2 separate regions of the Homo sapiens genome follow, and region 2 is linked to region 1. Evidence: promoter capture Hi-C in 16 types of primary human blood cells and fetal thymus (Javierre and others, 2016). All regions are on one chromosome and are shown on one strand. Each heading gives the region's core, a stretch centred on a gene start or on the middle of the fragment in contact. The rest is flanking DNA. Distances are from core to core; before and after follow the strand shown. Region 1 holds the start of CYP17A1 (cytochrome P450 family 17 subfamily A member 1). Region 2 overlaps CNNM2 (cyclin and CBS domain divalent metal cation transport mediator 2).

The links. Contacts are between HindIII fragments. The CHiCAGO score rates a contact against its expected background, and 5 or more counts as called.
Region 2: a fragment that was not itself captured here is called in contact with the fragment with the promoter of CYP17A1 in region 1 in 1 of 17 cell types (erythroblasts); the score reaches 5.9 in erythroblasts.

The regions. Positions count from the first base shown.
Region 1 is chr10:102,836,026-102,841,570 of GRCh38, forward strand. CYP17A1 (cytochrome P450 family 17 subfamily A member 1) reads right to left here and starts at 1,388. Exons shown (of 8, transcript NM_000102.4): 1 at 1,040-1,388. The coding sequence starts at 1,336. RefSeq lists a promoter at 1,348-1,627. The HindIII fragment of the contact is 11,808 bases long and covers 1-5,545 here.
Region 2 is chr10:103,030,913-103,036,011 of GRCh38, forward strand. The region is part of intron 1 of CNNM2 (cyclin and CBS domain divalent metal cation transport mediator 2); the gene reads left to right. Among named protein-coding and RNA genes, the nearest start is that of CNNM2, 120 kb to the left of the region's middle. The HindIII fragment of the contact is 1,115 bases long and covers 2,603-3,717 here.

The DNA.
Region 1 (5,545 bases), core at 138-2,637:
CCCTGAAGATCCACATGACTAGCCTTCTCCATCTTCTCTGCCCCCGGGAGGAAGCCAGCAGAGGTGGGAGCTAGGTAGTTGGTCAGCAGACCTGGCTGATTGGTCCAAGAAAAAATAAACCAACCCTTGGCTTGATCAAAGCTGAGAGGCTGGCAGGGCACAGTGGCTTACGCCTATAATCCTAGCACTTTGGGAGGCTAAGGTGGGAGGATCACGAGGTCAGGAGATCGAGACCATCCTGGCTAACATGGTGAAACACCATCTCTACTAAAAATACAAAAAATTAGCGGGCATGGTGGCATGCTCCTGTAGTCCCAGGTACTCAGGAGGCTGAGGCAGGAGAATCACTTGAACCCGGGAGGCAGAGGTTGCAGTGAGCTGAGATTGGCCACTGCACTCCAGGCTGGGCGACAGAGAGAGACTCTGTCTCAAAAAAAAAAAAAAAAAAAAAAAATGCTGAGAGGCTGGGGGCCCTGCTGAGTGGGAGGCTCATCAGCAACCCTGAAATGTCATTGTAGAAAACTGCCCCTGTGAGCCTGAGTAGCTGGAAATAGCACCAGGAAAGCAGCAATCCCAGCCTGCAATAGCTAGGCTAATTCTCCCCAGCAGCTTTCATGGAGGACAGTAGTCACTGCCCCCATTTTCCATGAAAAGTAACATGAATCCTGGCTGTATAAGGGGCACTTACTGTGCTGGGTGCTAGGCTAAGTGCTGTACATGCACCTTCTCAGTCCATTAGAGAAGTCTAGGCTCAGAGAGAGGAGTGGAGTGAGGATTCCTTGACCCCTCAGACCACTGTGGTCCTCCCATCCCACCTCCTGGGCAGCCTGGTAGAGGAGACATTCCTTTAATTCTTCCTGCCTAATTTAGAGGCTGGGTGGGGGTCTGAAGGTTCACTCCCTTCACATCATCCCACTAGTCTACTTTGGGAAGAATTACAGGTTGTTGGAGCTGGAAGCCCCATTCTAGGCATGGTCTGAAGACCTGAACAATCCCAGGGGGTGGTGAAGGGGGCAGGGAGGAGATGGGCACCACTTACCATTTGAGGCCGCCCAGAGAAGTCCTTGCCCTTCTTAATAAGCACCTCCTTGGCCAGCTGGTGGTGGCCGACAATCACTGTAGTCTTGGTGCCCATACGAACCGAATAGATGGGGCCATATTTTTTCTGCAGCTTGAAGAAGTTGTTATGCATATGGCCGTGTCTGGGGAGGAATGGCAGGCTGCCCACCAGGGGCAGGGACAGGAGGCTCTTGGGGTACTTGGCACCAGGGCACCTTCTCTTGGGCCAAAACAAATAAGCTAGGGTAAGCAGCAAGAGAGCCACGAGCTCCCACATGGTGGCTGGGTGCCGGCAGGCAAGATAGACAGCAGTGGAGTAGAAGAGCTGTGGCAACTCTAGGGCACAAGGAGGCCTTTTAAAGGGCTACCCTGATCTTCACCTTGACTTTGTGTTATCTCTTGCCTTGTGGAAAGATTCTCCTGGAGCCCAGCCAGGCCTGAGCTCATATCCAGAAGGGAGAGAGGCGGTGGGAGTGAAGGCCTCCTCAAGGGCTGGCTCAACTCCAGGGCAAACCTCCGGAGGAGGAGCTAGGTAAGGGAGGTCAGTTGATCACCCTCTGAGGAGCTCCCCATGCTTGAATGACTCCAGAGTGCGAATGGTATCTGGGCTCAGGAGTCAAGGCTTGGAACTTTCCATGTTGCAAAATCAAAATCACTGGACAGATGACAGATTCAGGAGGGTCACAAGTAGCAGGGACTGTTAAAGGTCTTTTATGCTTCTTTTTTTTTTTTTCAGAGTCTTGCTCCATCACCAGGCTGGTGTGCAGTGGTGTGACTGTCCATGCAGCCCTGGCCCTCCAGCCCATGTGGTTTTGGCAGCGATAAGGGCTGTGGGTTAATGGTCCCCAAAATAAAAATGTACATGTGTATGGGAACGAAAGGGGTGCTAAGCTGTGGGGAGCGGTGGAAGGGAAGGGAGAGATAGGTCAGTACTAGGAATGCCAGAGGTGGGAGGCCGTTTCATAACATTTCTTGTTGATCAAAATGCCATCAACACCTTCTTTGCTCATCAGCAGGACTAGCGTACTGGGGGAACCCACCCCCAATATTTCAACGTAGGTTCTTTCTATAAGTGTCAGCCGGCTGAGAAATAAAGAGAGACAGTATAAAGAGAGGAATTTTACAGCTGGGCCGCCGGGGGTGGCATCACATATCGGTAGGACTGTGATACCCACCTGAGCCTCAAACCAGCAAGTTTTTATTAAGGGTTTCAAAAAGGGGAGGGGGTGTAAGAACAGGGAGTAGGTACAAAGATCACATGCTTCAAAGGGCGAAAAGCAGAACTACTAATAAGTGTCTAACAAAGATCACATGCTTCTGAGGGAAAGGACAAAGGGCAAAAGCAGAACTACCGATAAGGGTCCAACAAAGATCACAAGGCAAAGGGCAAAAGCAGAACCACTGATAAGGGTCCAACAAAGATCACAAGGCAAAGGGCAAAAGCAGAACTACAGATGAGGGTCTATGTTCAGCGGTGCACATACTGTCTTGATAAACACCTTAAACAACAGCAAACAGGGTTCGACAGCAGAGAACCGGTCTGACCACAAATTTACCAGGGCGGAGTTTTTCCCCACCCTAGTAAGCCTGAGGGTACTGCAGGAGACCAGGGCGTATCTCAGTCCTTATCTCAACTGCACAAGATAGACATTCCCAGAGCGGCTGTTTATAGACCTCCCCCCAGGAATGCATTCCTTTCCCAGGGTATTAATAATAATACTCCTTGCTAGGAAAAGAATTTAGTGATATCTTCCCTACTTGCATGTCCATTTATAGCCTCTCTCAAGAAGGAAAATATGGCTCTTTCTGCCCGACCCTGCAGGCAGTCAGACCTTATGGTTGTTTTCCCTTGTTCCCTAAAAATTGCTCTTATTCTGTTCTTTTTCAAGGTGCACTAATTTCATATTGTTCAAACACATGTCTTACAATCAATTTGTACAGTTAACACAATTATCACAGTGGTCCTGAAGTGACAAACATCCTCAGCTTACAAAGATAACAGGATTAAGAGATTAAAGTAAAGACAGGCATAAGAAATTATAAAAGTATTATTTGGGAACTGATAAATGTCCATATTAAAATGAAATCTTCACAATTTATGTTCCTCTGCCATGGCTCCAGCCAGTCCCTCCATTCAGGGTCCCTGACTTCCCGCAACATCTCTCCCTTTCTTTTTATATAAATGTGCCGTGGCGATGAAGGCTTGCTCGTTCTCTCGGTTTTGATGCAGGATTCTTTGACTGGTCTGGCACACTAAAAACAAGCCGATTAAACAGAGAAACATGATTCCAAAATTTCCTACAGTGGAGCCCCCAGTAGACTTAATCCAAGTTGTGGAGTTTAGTCCAGAAAGACTTTCTGCCACCTGATCTAACGCCTCAGCTCCAGGCACAATGGATAAATGAGCTTGAGAGGCTTCAAAAATTTGTTTCTTTAATTTAGTTATGTCCAAGGATAAATTATCTTCCCTACCCAGAAGGTGTCCTTTGACCATTTCCCATGATCAGTCTCGTTGTAGGAATATGGTGTGCTATAGAAATCAGAAGTGTTGCAATCGAACTGCATTTGCATGTGATGTTCGAGACTCATTAGCTGGTCCCCAAGCCAAATAACAGACTGTCTTAAATCATTAGCTAATTTTTGATCAATGCCTTGTTGAGGATTCCACATTTGGGTGGAATTGCCTTACCAATCATTAACAAAATTAGCCATTTGAATAGATTGGTGTAATGCCACTCCGGCAGTGGTGGCCAGTGCAGTGACTGTAATTAGGCCCATGATCACAGTGATTAAAGTGAAAACAAATCTCTTGATCTTTTGAGAATTCGTTGTAACACTTCATTAATTAAATGTACTGAGGGGGAAGATTCCCAAGTTCTGGGTAAAGTTACTGGTATCCAGATTCCTTCTCAAGCTCGAACCAACATTACACTTTTCCTGAGTCAAAACGGGAGTTAACACAAGTGGATAAATGACAATTAATGCATTGGACGGTTTGATTGTTCATCCAAATTTTGATATTTCCCACTAACAGCATGTAAGGAGGCTTAACACAACTCTGTATAATAGTCAGGCTGGAGGTAAACAAAGCAGAATGTTTGAATCTACGTTGATACCGAGGGGGAGGAGTGGCGGTGGCAACGCCCAATGTTTGATGCCGTAAAGAAGCAATCCGAGGTGCCCGGGGATTCTGAAGAGGTAGGGGGACATACCTGGGTCCAGAAGAATTATCATAATGCCAATCAGAGTCCCATAAAGGAGGACTGGCATCAAAAAGAGGAAAATGGTCCAAAGGGGATTTATCATGGGTTTCAGAATCACGGATGTGAGGGGTGGTAGTGGGGACAACAGAAAGAAAAGTTTCCCCTTCCCATACTCGCAGTCTGGACATGGCAATAGCCAATTTCCAAAGTTCTGGGTGTTCTGGGCTCAGAATGGGGGATATCATAAGAGGCCTCGGGTGGCAGGGGGTAATGCTCTTATCTTCCCATTTTAAGGGACAGAATGAGCTGAACCTCCTATGCAAAGTAGGATGATGATCCTCGTCCTCCCAATAAGAAATAAAACAAGTAGCCTCCAGGCATTCCCTTCCAGCAGAAGAGCAACTGCTTTTCAAATAGCCCTTTGGTGCCCAGTCTCTTACTAAACCATATGAGTCATTTTTTAATAGTACTGCATGTGAATTAACACAATCTTCCCAAATTAAAGATTTAGATGGGCCCTCAAAAATTTTAGGACATGGTTTTCCTACAGGTTTATATTGAAAGTAGGGGGTATCTCCTATTACTCCCCCTTTCATTTGTCTTAAAGGAGAAAGGGAGAGGCTGGAGACCAAATGTCCCCGTTCCCCTGTGGCTGATCTCTCCAGAAGGTACGCAGCCCAGACTTGAGTTTCTAGATGGATACAACAAGGTGCATGTCCGAGGCACAGAGGAGGGTATTTATAACCGTAGGAACATTAAATGCAGTGCCTTCTTTTCCTGGTTGAGTGGGGCAACGGTCATCTGTAGCTCCAGGCATCCACACACTATCATTAGTATAGATTTCCGCAGGAGCATCCATCCAGGTGAGAGGTTGAATAAGTGGAGGAAAAGGCACATAAGCCCAGCAAGAATAATTTTGTGTAGCAGGTAAATCAATGTGAGGGGAAACTGGTGAGACAGAAAGTATAAGGAAGAGAATTATTAAATAAAACCTATTGTAAGCAAGATCCAGTGCTGAAGGAGGAATAGAAGAATAAGGGGATGTTATTTTCAGGCTAATAGAAATGGTGAGATTTTTAGGTTCGTAAGGAGAAAAAGAAAGGGAATTAGGAGAAGTGGGATTAGTTAGAGGGGTTTCTGTTGCCATTAGGGAGGATTGAACCAGACCCATTTTGATTTGGCGTGCCAGTTTCTGAGGAGTTGGCACAGATCTCACCAGGTATGAGGGTGGTCTCTGACGTGGACGTCTCTTCCCTGTGGTTTTTATTGTCAGTATTCACATG
Region 2 (5,099 bases), core at 1,910-4,409, 200 kb after region 1:
TTTAGTTTTGGACATGTTGAACTTAAGATGCTTATTGGACAAGAGGAGGAGGAGGACCAGATGGACAGATGGAATATTTTTATATCTGAGGTTTAGATGAGACTGGGATGGTGGAGTATGTAGATTTTAGGGTTTTCAGTCTGTGCTTTATGCTCCCTTTGTTGTAGTTACTCAATTAGTGCATCGTGAAAAGCATATTACCACAAAGCTAATGAAGCTAAAGCTTAAGTGCTCAGATGTGTGGGCTGCTTCCAAGGCCCTGGGAAGACCCCTAGCAAGTTTTACATGTTTATGTGTATTTGTAAATTTTGAAAAATCGGAAAGTTTACTGTGGGCCAAAATTACTCTTTCCACATTGAGTTACCCTCTCTTACTCTTGTGTGTGGCAATGTTGGAGTGGTCCCAAGCATTTTTGGGATTCAGCTGTGGGAAAGTTAAGCTGTGGATATACACTTTGTTTGAGTTTACTGGGATATATCTCTGTGGTTGCAGTCACTTTGATGTATAGTTATTGGTGGCCATCTCACTGCATAAATGATATCCAACAATGTGGATGTCACTCAAAGGTACAAGCCCTGCATTGTATTGAGACAGGAGTGTGTTCTAACACATCTGGCACTGGAATCTGCAAGTAGAAGAGCATGAAATGTGTGAAACCAAAAAGTGGCTGGTGGAAAAACTTTCCACTCACCCGATGTCTTAGCCTGAACATCAGCCTGGTAGAAAGACTTGCATGCAGGGAAGTTTATATGGAGTGCAGTCCCAGGAAGCAGGAGTTCAGGACAAGGAAAGTGAAATGAGAAGGAGGGAAAGAAAATTTAAGGATCTGATAGCGCCTAGGCAGCAGGTGTTCAATTCCACTAGAACCTTTTTAGGAACCTATGGAATGGAATGCTCTCAGAACTGTCTGCTTAAGTACAAAATGCGGGGGGGGCGTGAGGGGATTTATCCCGTTGATTTCTCCCTCTTGTTTGCATATGCATAACTGCAGAATAAGTTTCAAGAGAAATCCTAAGGCAGGAAGTGAAATATTGAGCATTAGCAATGAGGCAGTGTCTGCCTGCACTGATGCACGAGCATGAAGCCACTGCAAGCCTGCGTGAACTAGTCACTGCGGCAGTGGAGGGAGTGAGCACTGGGGCCTAGGGGGTTGGAAGTGGCTTTTTAGAGGTGTCCAACACTGTCAGAGGACCCTATTCCCCTTGATCCCTGGTTGAAATACACATTTTCTCTTGTTAGAAATATATACATTAGGGGCCGGGTACGGTGACTCATGCCTGTAATCCCAGCACTTTGGGAGGCCGAGGCAGGTGGATCACCTGAGGTCAGGAGTTCAAGACCAGCCTGGCCAACATGGTGAAACCCCATCTCTACTAAAAAAGACAAAAAACAGCTGGGCGTGATGGTGCACATCTGTAATTCCAGCTACTCAGGAGGCTGAGGCAGGAGAATCGCTTGAACCTGGGAGATGGAGGTTGCAGCGAGCCGAGATCACCCCACCGCACTCCAACCTGGGGGACAGAGTGAGACTCCATCTCAAAAAGAAAAAAAGAATTACCCTGTAGAATGCAAATTTTTAACAGTACTGCAAATTTCATCCAGAATGCCACTGTTAACATTTGTTTCTAGAGTTTTCTATATATAATTATGATTAATGCAATTAATTACAATGAATACAAATGGGAACATACTATAATATTCTACATGACTTTTTTTTAGAGTAGCCTTTCATAACAATTGATGTAGCTCTTTTTTTTTTTTTTTTTTTTTAAATAGCTGCATAGCATTCTATTGCTGATAGAATCCTACTATATCCACGCTAGCTGCATAGCATTCTAGTGTGGATATTGTAGAATTTACTTAACGGGGCTTTATCGTGGATGTTTAGGTGGTGACTTTTTTCTTATAGAAATATAAAAACTTAGCTGAGTGTGGTGGCTCACGTCTGTAATCCCAACACTTTGGGAGGCTGAGGTGGATGGATTGCTTGAGCTTAAGAGTTTGAGACCAGCCTGGGCAACATGGTGAAACCCTGTCACTACAAAAGATACAAAAATTAGCCAGATGTGGCTACCCATGCCTGTAATCCCAGCTACTTATGAGGCTGAGGCAGGAGAATCACATGAACCCAAGAGGTGGAGGTTGTAGTGAGCCATGATCATGCCACTGCACTCTAGCCTGAGTGACAGAGTAAGACCCTGTCCAAAAAAAAAAAAAGAAAAGAAAAACAGAAAAACTAATTTTTGTCTTCTATACATTTTTTAAATTTATTTTATTTTTATTTTTATGTTTTTGAGATGGAGTCTTGCTTTGTCACACAGGCTGGAGTACAATGGCATGATCTCAGCTCACTGCAACCTCCGCCTCCCAGGTTCAAGCAATTCTCCTGCCTCAGCCTCCCGAGTAGTTGGGACTACAGGCGCCCACCACCAGGCCCACTTAATTTTATTGTATTTTTTAGTAGAGACGGGGTTTCACTGTGTTAGCCAGGACAGTCTCAATCTCCAGACCTCCTGATCTGCCTGCCTTGGCCTCCCAAAGTGCTGGGATTACAAATAGGCGTGAGCCACCACGCCTGGACAATCTAAGGTTTTTTTTAAAAAGCTTCTGGTGAAGAAAAAACATGTACAAACAATTGTGAAAATGTTGCAAAAAATTTCCTCTCTTGAAATACATCCGTCTCTACAACTTAAAGGAGGATGAGTTAGGAAAGCCATAAACACAAATTCTACCCTAGGATCCTATTTTTGGTTGGTAGAGATGGGGGTTTCACCATGTTGGCCAGGCTGGTCTCGAACTCCTAACCTTGTGATCCGCCTGCCTCGGCCTCCCAAAGTGCTGGGATTACAGGCGTGAGCCACCGTGCCCAGCCCTTCTACACATTTTTAAGAGCTATTGGGGGAAAGTAGATCATGGGAATGGTGAGTAGGAATTATGAAGGAATCTATAATAGAGAACACTGGGTTTTAAAAGTTGTTTGCATCTTTTTTCTCCTCTATAATGAAGATGAAGTGCTTGAAGTTTCTGGGGACAGGAAGCAAAAGTAAAATGCTAGGATTTTAGGACAATGAGGAAGACCTTGAAATATTTTCACCCTTTCATTTTTTTTTTTGAAGTTTATCATATGCACAAAATTTACAGAAGATAATTAATACATTGGATAAGAATTTATCTAGATGATTAATTTTCCTTCTAATATCCAGAGATTTTTTGGGAGGGGGATAATCTTGATAGCTCTTTTCCCTTATATCACATAATTATTAACTATGTAATATATGTTTACTATTAAATGTATAATAATAAATAATAGCAATTCTACCTCGCTCCAAATTGAGGTCATCAGGAAGGACTTCCCAAAAAGAGGAGACTTGAGTGAGAAAAGGGGTTAAGGTCTGTCTTTCTTGTTTTTTTTTTTTGGTTTTAAAAACAAAACAAAACAAAAAAAACCATTACTTTCCCCTTCAAGCAGGTTTAAAAACCGACCTCATTCCTCTCCTTAAAACGCCTGTGACTGCAGCAAATGTACGGTGTGGTTTGATCTGCAGTGTTATTTAGCACATTGTCTGGGCTTAGGTAATTTTTGTTCAGTGACTGTGACAACAGGACCACATTTTTATGTATGACTTTTGTATAATTACTGATCTTGTCTACTTGTGTTGTAGAAATCAGCCAAGAAATTAGCTTAGTTGAAATCAGTAAGTTTGGACTGTAAAACAAAGCTTCTAAATAATTATTGGTCTAAAAACTAAAACCTTATAATGGAACAGAAGAGTAAATCATAAAACCAAAGCCCTAACATTTGGGCTTAGCAGCAGAAGTATAGATCTCTTTTAAAAATCTCCTACTGATCGAGACCATCCTGGCTAACAAGGTGAAACCCCGTCTCTACTAAAAATACAAAAAATTAGCCGGGCGCGGTGGCGGGCGCCTGTAGTCCCAGCTACTCGGGAGGCTGAGGCAGGAGAATGGCGTGAACCCGGGAAGCGGAGCTTGCAGTGAGCCGAGATTGCGCCACTGCAGTCTGCAGTCCGGCCTGGGCGACAGAGCGAGACTCCGTCTCAAAAAAAAAAAAAAAAAATCTCCTACTATTGGCTGGGCATGGTGGTTCATGTCTATAATCCCAGCACTTTGGGAGGCTGAGGTGGAAGGATCACTTGAGTCCAGGAATTCGAGACCAGTCTGGGCAACATAGTGGGACCGTGTCTTGAAAAATAAAAAATAACTCCTACTATTATTGGATATATTGGAATTCTACTAAACGGACTACTAAGTAGTCTGGTCAGTCCTCGTTTATCATTCTTATAAACGCTGCAGGCCTAAAGGAAAGACAGAAATAGTCTCATTGGTTCTAAAATAAACCCCTTAGTTCTATAGAAGAACTACCTGTCTCTTGGGGAACATGAGAAGGTTCCCATCATCTCAGCCTGAAAGCCATCTTTTGTCTTAGCCATGTTTTCCATTGCCCATCACTTACTAGGGAAACATTCCAATGAGTGTACAGTGAGTGTTACAGACCACCAAAAAAGATGAAGTGGAGATGCCCAGCATGCCTCACTATTTATAAGAAAATATTTCCCCAAAAGATGGGAAAATCCGAGTCTTTAAATACTCAGAGAGAGAAATAATGGAAAAAACTCTTCAGTCTCTGTTCTGTTGGTTCATGAGATTTTCTCACAAGTCATTTGGATGGGCCATTAAGTAAGTCACATAATGACTGGAATTTTCTATTAATTGCCTCACTTTGGGTTTCTGGCTAAAGTATCTGGCAGCAAGACTGAAGAACAAGCGAAAGAGAAAAGGAGTGGGTGGTGGTGGGAATGTGAGACCATCCATTGTTTGTTTATTGCCTGGAATCCTAACTTAGGGGAGAGGGCTGGAGGGCTGTCTTTGATAGGACCATCCACTTGGATGGCTAGAAGTAAATGACTTGGCTTCTTGTCTTTTAAACAGTTTAGGTTTCTTTGTTTCAGAGGGTTACTTTACTTTCTGTGTCTGCTGTTGTCACCGGGAAGTTCATGGATCGAATTCTCTGGCATAGCGCACACACATTAGTTTGTCTTCTTATACGCATCAGTCATTAGCTGTCTTGGCTTTGGGAA